Linked DNA regions of Homo sapiens: region 1 is linked to region 2. Evidence: promoter capture Hi-C in 16 types of primary human blood cells and fetal thymus (Javierre and others, 2016). All regions are on one chromosome and are shown on one strand. Each heading gives the region's core, a stretch centred on a gene start or on the middle of the fragment in contact. The rest is flanking DNA. Distances are from core to core; before and after follow the strand shown.

Region 1 (2,713 bases), core at 142-2,641, 470 kb before region 2:
TTTTTTTTTTTTTTTTTTTTTGAGACAGAGTCTTGCTCTTATTGCTCTGGCTGGAGTGCAGTGGTGTGATCTCGGCTCACTGCAACCTCCACCTCCTGGGTTCAAGTGATTCTCATGCCTCAGCCCCCCAATTAGCTGGGATTCTTGTGCCTCAGCCTCCCAAGCAGCTGAAATTACAGGCACATGCCACCTCACCTGGCTAATTTTTGTAGTTTTAGCAGACATGGGGTTTCGCCATGATGGCCAGGCTGGTCTCAAACTCCTGGCCTTAAGTGATCCACCCACCTCAGCCTCCCAAAGTGCTGGGATTACAGGCATGAGCCACCATGCCCTATCAGAGAAGAGATTTCTTGGAGAGAAATTCATCTTACTCCTCTATTGTCAGGATTGAAAAAATATCCTTTATACTTTTAAACCCACTATCATACTTTTTAAACAGGATTTTTAAATAAAATCTATGCTTCCCTGTAGATTAGTAAAGCTAGATTTTAACAGGTAAACTAGAAGGGGTTAGAATTTAAGACACTTCAGGTAAATATAAAGGAAATCTATGTTTATTGACTCAATCCTTAGGATATCAGAATGAAAATATATGTGTGTGCATGTTTGTGTATTATTCTCCTAGCCATTTTTCCTCCCTTCAATGCCCAGATCACCTACCTGAAAACATGGTGGAAAGTCCAGAATTTACAGTAGATTTCTTAGTGCTTGACTTAAGTAGAATAGAGGAAAGGCACAACCTAAAAAGCCAAGTGTGCCCTTAGCAAAAGCAAATGTATTTGTTTGGTTTTTCTGCCCACTATAATTTCAGGAACTCTTACTCATCTAACACTGAAAAAAAAATATACAGCTTTAAGCTTAAAAAAAAAAAAAAGAAAGAAAGAGAAAAGAAAGAGAATTTTCTCCTCCCCAGTGCTTGTAATACCCCATTAAAAGCTTGGGAATAAAACTTCCTTCCCTATCAATGTTGTCCTTTTCCATTAAGCAAATATTGATTTCCTCTCCTTCCTTCCCCACCTCTACCCCCCTTAGATACGGGAGTCCAAATTACCATTGGCTCTTTTTGTTTACTTCCTTCTTTGTGTACTAACAAGGCTGAGTGTTTGTGTATTGCCTGCTGCTAGGCAGCCAACAGGGGGCGCTCACTGCATATTTTGATGAGGGGAAAAACGATTGGATTCAAAATAATCTTCAGTTTTCCTTGCACTTTCAATGCAAAAGTAAAGACTATAGTTCTCACACACAAAGGTTTTGCAAATGTGTTCAGAAGCAACGTGAGGAAATGTCTAGGTCAGGGAAGGAGGCCTTAGGGAGAGCCAGTATTTATACATGGAATGGGGATTTGAAGTTCCTAGGGACTTGGGTCCCTGAATGATTTGGGTCATTGATCATCAATTACACCTAAATTTTCTGGGCTATAATGACTAAATTTATTGGGCAATTTATCAACTTCTCACTTTGTGTACTTGGACACAGACTGAATAGTCAGAAAATATGTTCTAATTTTGCTTTCCCCCCGTTACTCTGGAGCGTCTCTTAGCATTTAGTTTAGGCTGCTCCATGTATAGGATGCAGAATGGAATCCTGTATTCCCACCGACAGTTTCTCCTAAGAATAAACTTCTCGGTGTCAAAATGGCAAACGAAAATAATAATGACACTTCGGGGTATATAAAATTTTAAGAACAGTCATACATTATAAGATCAAGGAAAAGCTGGGGAGGTGTTAGAATTTTAAAGTAACTCTTATCTACTTTGATTCAGATTCGATTTCAATTGAGAAAATTCCTAAAAATAAAACAACATGTAGCCTATTCAAATATTGTTTGATTTTCATGTTTAAAAGGTCAAGCTTTAAACTTGAAAGGAGTTTAAAAAGAAGTTGTTTGAGCTCCAAACAAATGCTAGCAGAAACAAGTTATTTTGAATTATTTGCTTCTAAAGACAGATAAAAAGAGATCAGACATAACAAGCTCTCATTAGAAGAAAATATAGTATATGGCAAGCCCTGTAAAATTTATCAGGATCTAACATTAAGATATACCCAAATTCATGGGTATATATTGAGATTTTTAAAAATAGTTAATATTGCTTACTGTTGATCACACTAATAAATAAGGTTTCCTATAGAATTATTAAAGCCTTCCTTTTGATTTACACAGCAAAGACTTCAGTAACAGTGATGGCGTTGCTCATTATTCAACAAAAACCACAGGAAAAATGTGCATCTTAGAAACATATTTTGTTCTCTTTCTGAAGCCCAAACAACTTCCAGCTAAAAGACATATTTTGATTAAGATAATATTTTTCCCTAATCAATATTTTTTACCTCTGGGTTATTACTTCCTTGAAGGCTTCTCTGACTTTTTTTTTTCTTTCTAAATTAGTCCATGTAGTTTATGAGAAATCATCAGCACTGCCATACGCTGCCGTTTACATTAAATCTTTCCCTTCATATTTACTGCTGGGTGGCAGGGCTTGTCTCTAGCCTTTATGGTTTGGCATCAAATCTTGAAATGTGTATTTTATACTTAATTGGAGTGGGGATAGGAGCACAGGAGCAGAATTAACCATTAATGAAATAAGACTCCTCTCAACCAACATTCATGCTTCCAATTTGGTTGGCAACATGCCTGAACACTGCTTGGTGTGAAACCACAACCAGTGTGGCGTGCTTGTTTCAAACATGGGCCTAGAATTGTGTGGTATTAGAT
Region 2 (2,700 bases), core at 67-2,566:
TTTTAGGAGAGAGATAAAGGCAAAAGACATAAAGTAATCAACTTAAAATGGATTCTCATTTTTTTTAAAAAATGTGCTGGGTCAGCAGAATTACTGAAGAACAGTTGTGTGAAATTTAGTTATAAATGAATAAAGAAACCGATAAGATAAAGATACCACATTAATGAAAAAATAGTTATTAAATTCCTGTCCTTTTTGATGTTTTCTCTGATAATTAATATTTCCTTCTTCATAAGATAGTATAATCTCTAGGCAAATTTCCAAAGAAATTAAGAAATAAAATATGATTTGAAGGGAAGAAGGAAAAGAGAGAGAGAGAAGAGAGACTGAGACAAAAAATGAAGAAAGGAAAGTTTTAAAAGTGGCATTTTTAGAAGAGCTTCCAAGACTTGAATTAGGTATGGCATTAATTTTTTTCCACCTAGTCTTAGTCGTGGCAGGTTTCTGAAAAAATGCAGGAATTTCATGGATGTGGGAACTGGTGATGGAAAATGCATTATTTCCAACACAACAATTGTTGTACTTGAGAGAAACTATATGGGGAAAAAAATAACACCCTAGAATAAATACAAATGAAATTCATGTATCAAAACCAATACTGTGAAAATAGTTTAAATGTTTCTTGAATTTATATCTAGTCATTAACCTAAATGCAGATTTTAGTTGAAGCCACACTTCTGCCTCATGGTCAGAAGGCCTGAAAACCTGTGGCGTGGAAAATTGGCAGGAAGGAGAATATTGAATTGGTCTCCATGGAAAAACAGATTTTGGCAGCCATAACCTCCTCCCCGGCAGGTCTCTCTCCCACTCTCTCTTTCTTCCTCCCTGTTTCACTCTTGTCCCAGGAAAGAGGCTGAGGAAAGACCATGTATCAGCTACAACAGCAAGCAGTTGTCAATCTGACCATTCATCGAACAACCTTTCTCATTGGCATTGAATCCTGTGGTTTAGGTTAAAGCCCCAAAATTGTCGCAGCCCTAGACTCACCCTCTGAGAGCACGGAGGCCATAAATTCCATTTCTACTGGCTTTGGTTTCCTTCTCCCCTCAAACAAGAAAGTGGGGTGGAACACCTGCCTCGCTCGATGTCCCTGAAAGAAACTGCAATTCACAAATGGAAATGATAAATTCATTCTTAGAAATCCTAAAAATCTATTCCTCTCTTTCCCCGATCCCCATCCTGTTTACTCTCCTATTCTGTCTGGTTACCTCAGGGAAAGCAGATATTTCCTGAGTTTTATTTAGTCTAGAGGGCTTCTGCGAAATCATTTCTCCACCCCAGAAGGTCCTAACAGCCCACCTCACCCCTGAAGTTCAGGCTCGTTCCCTCCTGGGCTAGCCCTAAACCCAGACTCCACCAAGCTCCCCAACATTTTCCTTCCAGCCTCGTTTCCATCATCCCCCTACCCCAGAGCTTCCGGGGGAATGTTCGCCACGCCCCTCCGGTGGGTTCCAGGCCCTTTGCATGAGCGAATTGAGGCGAGAACTACCTCCCCAGAGTCAATGTTGTGTCCGTGTGCTGTGCCTGTGCCTCTCGGTGGTTTTCACGGTGATCTTTTCTCTCTTTGCAGCTGGTTAATAATCCACTAGCAAGTCAGGCTGCAGCGGCTGCAGCAGCCATGAGCTCCATAGCAAGCTCACAGGCCTTTGGCAATGCCCTCTCCAGTCTTCAGGGGGTCACAGGTCAACTAGTTACTAATGCACAAGGACAGGTGAGTGGGAGATGGGAACAAGAGTGCATTTTTATGGCAGATTGAACTCGGAAAGGAATTGAATTTCTTTTGCATGACAGTGATATGTAACCGCATCTATTCGAGGCAAATAAATAATGTTTACTAGCAATGTCAAGAATAGGAGAAGGGTTGGGAGGTGTTTCTATGTTTTAGAAGCAAGATTTTTTTCCTACCTCTAGATTGCCAAAGTTTTATTTTGTTTTTATCTCTGTACTATGACTCATGTTATGACCTTATATGAAGAAGTTACTTTGCATTACAGGGGGCATTCTTTCAAAAAGAAAAAAGTTACATCTTAAAAATAAAATGTCAGTTTTGCTTTTTTTTACTTTTCACTTAAGGAAAAACTTGGATAATGAGGGAAACTGATCAGTTTCCTTCCATAATTGCTGTGAGAGAGATATCAAAATTAGTCTTAACAAAGCCAATTTTTGAATGTATGGGAAGGTGATGAAGAAGTCTTGTAAAAGCAACAAAGAAAAGGGGTGAGTTAGAATGAAGCCAATTGCAAGTCAGCCCCATGGTCCCTGGCCTCCTGCCAATTCCTACGGAAGCCAGGCAACCTCTGGCATGCTTGTTGATTTACTTCAGTATGTCAGGGGTAGTAAACTTTCCTCATGTCATGAGAGAGGGTCTGTCCCCTCAACGCTGCTAATGTGCCACATAATGTTCATACTAGATCCTGGAAGAGCTTCAGACAACCCAATAAACCCAAAAGCTGCATAAAAAGCAAACGAGATGAAGCTGATGATGTCGGGGTACCCTCCATCTGAAGGCCTGTCTCAGAGCCCAGTGGTTAGGACACTTGGTTCTCCAGTGTGACTGATCATGAAATCCAAGGGAGAAGGAGCTAGCATTCTCACAAAGACTTTTCCCCCCAGCCTTATCTATTTGCCCAGCAGTGTGTTTGCATACTCCCTGCTTGGCCTGTTCTGTGGAGAGCAGGCATTTTGATGTCTTGAACCCTG

Evidence for each region. Contacts are between HindIII fragments. The CHiCAGO score rates a contact against its expected background, and 5 or more counts as called.
Region 1: a fragment that was not itself captured here is called in contact with the fragment with the promoter of POU6F2-AS1 in region 2 in 4 of 17 cell types (M2 macrophages, megakaryocytes, M1 macrophages and 1 more); the score reaches 7.4 in M2 macrophages.

Annotation. Positions count from the first base shown.
Region 1 is chr7:38,931,618-38,934,330 of GRCh38, forward strand. No RefSeq gene overlaps it. Among named protein-coding and RNA genes, the nearest start is that of VPS41, 24 kb to the left of the region's middle. The HindIII fragment of the contact is 915 bases long and covers 935-1,849 here.
Region 2 is chr7:39,405,030-39,407,729 of GRCh38, forward strand. It overlaps POU6F2-AS1 (POU6F2 antisense RNA 1), which reads right to left and starts at 1,317. Exons shown (of 4, transcript NR_046711.1): 1 at 1,305-1,317; 2 at 988-1,090. It overlaps POU6F2 (POU class 6 homeobox 2), which reads left to right. Exons shown (of 10, transcript NM_001370959.1): 6 at 1,571-1,711. The HindIII fragment of the contact is 9,360 bases long and covers 1-2,700 here.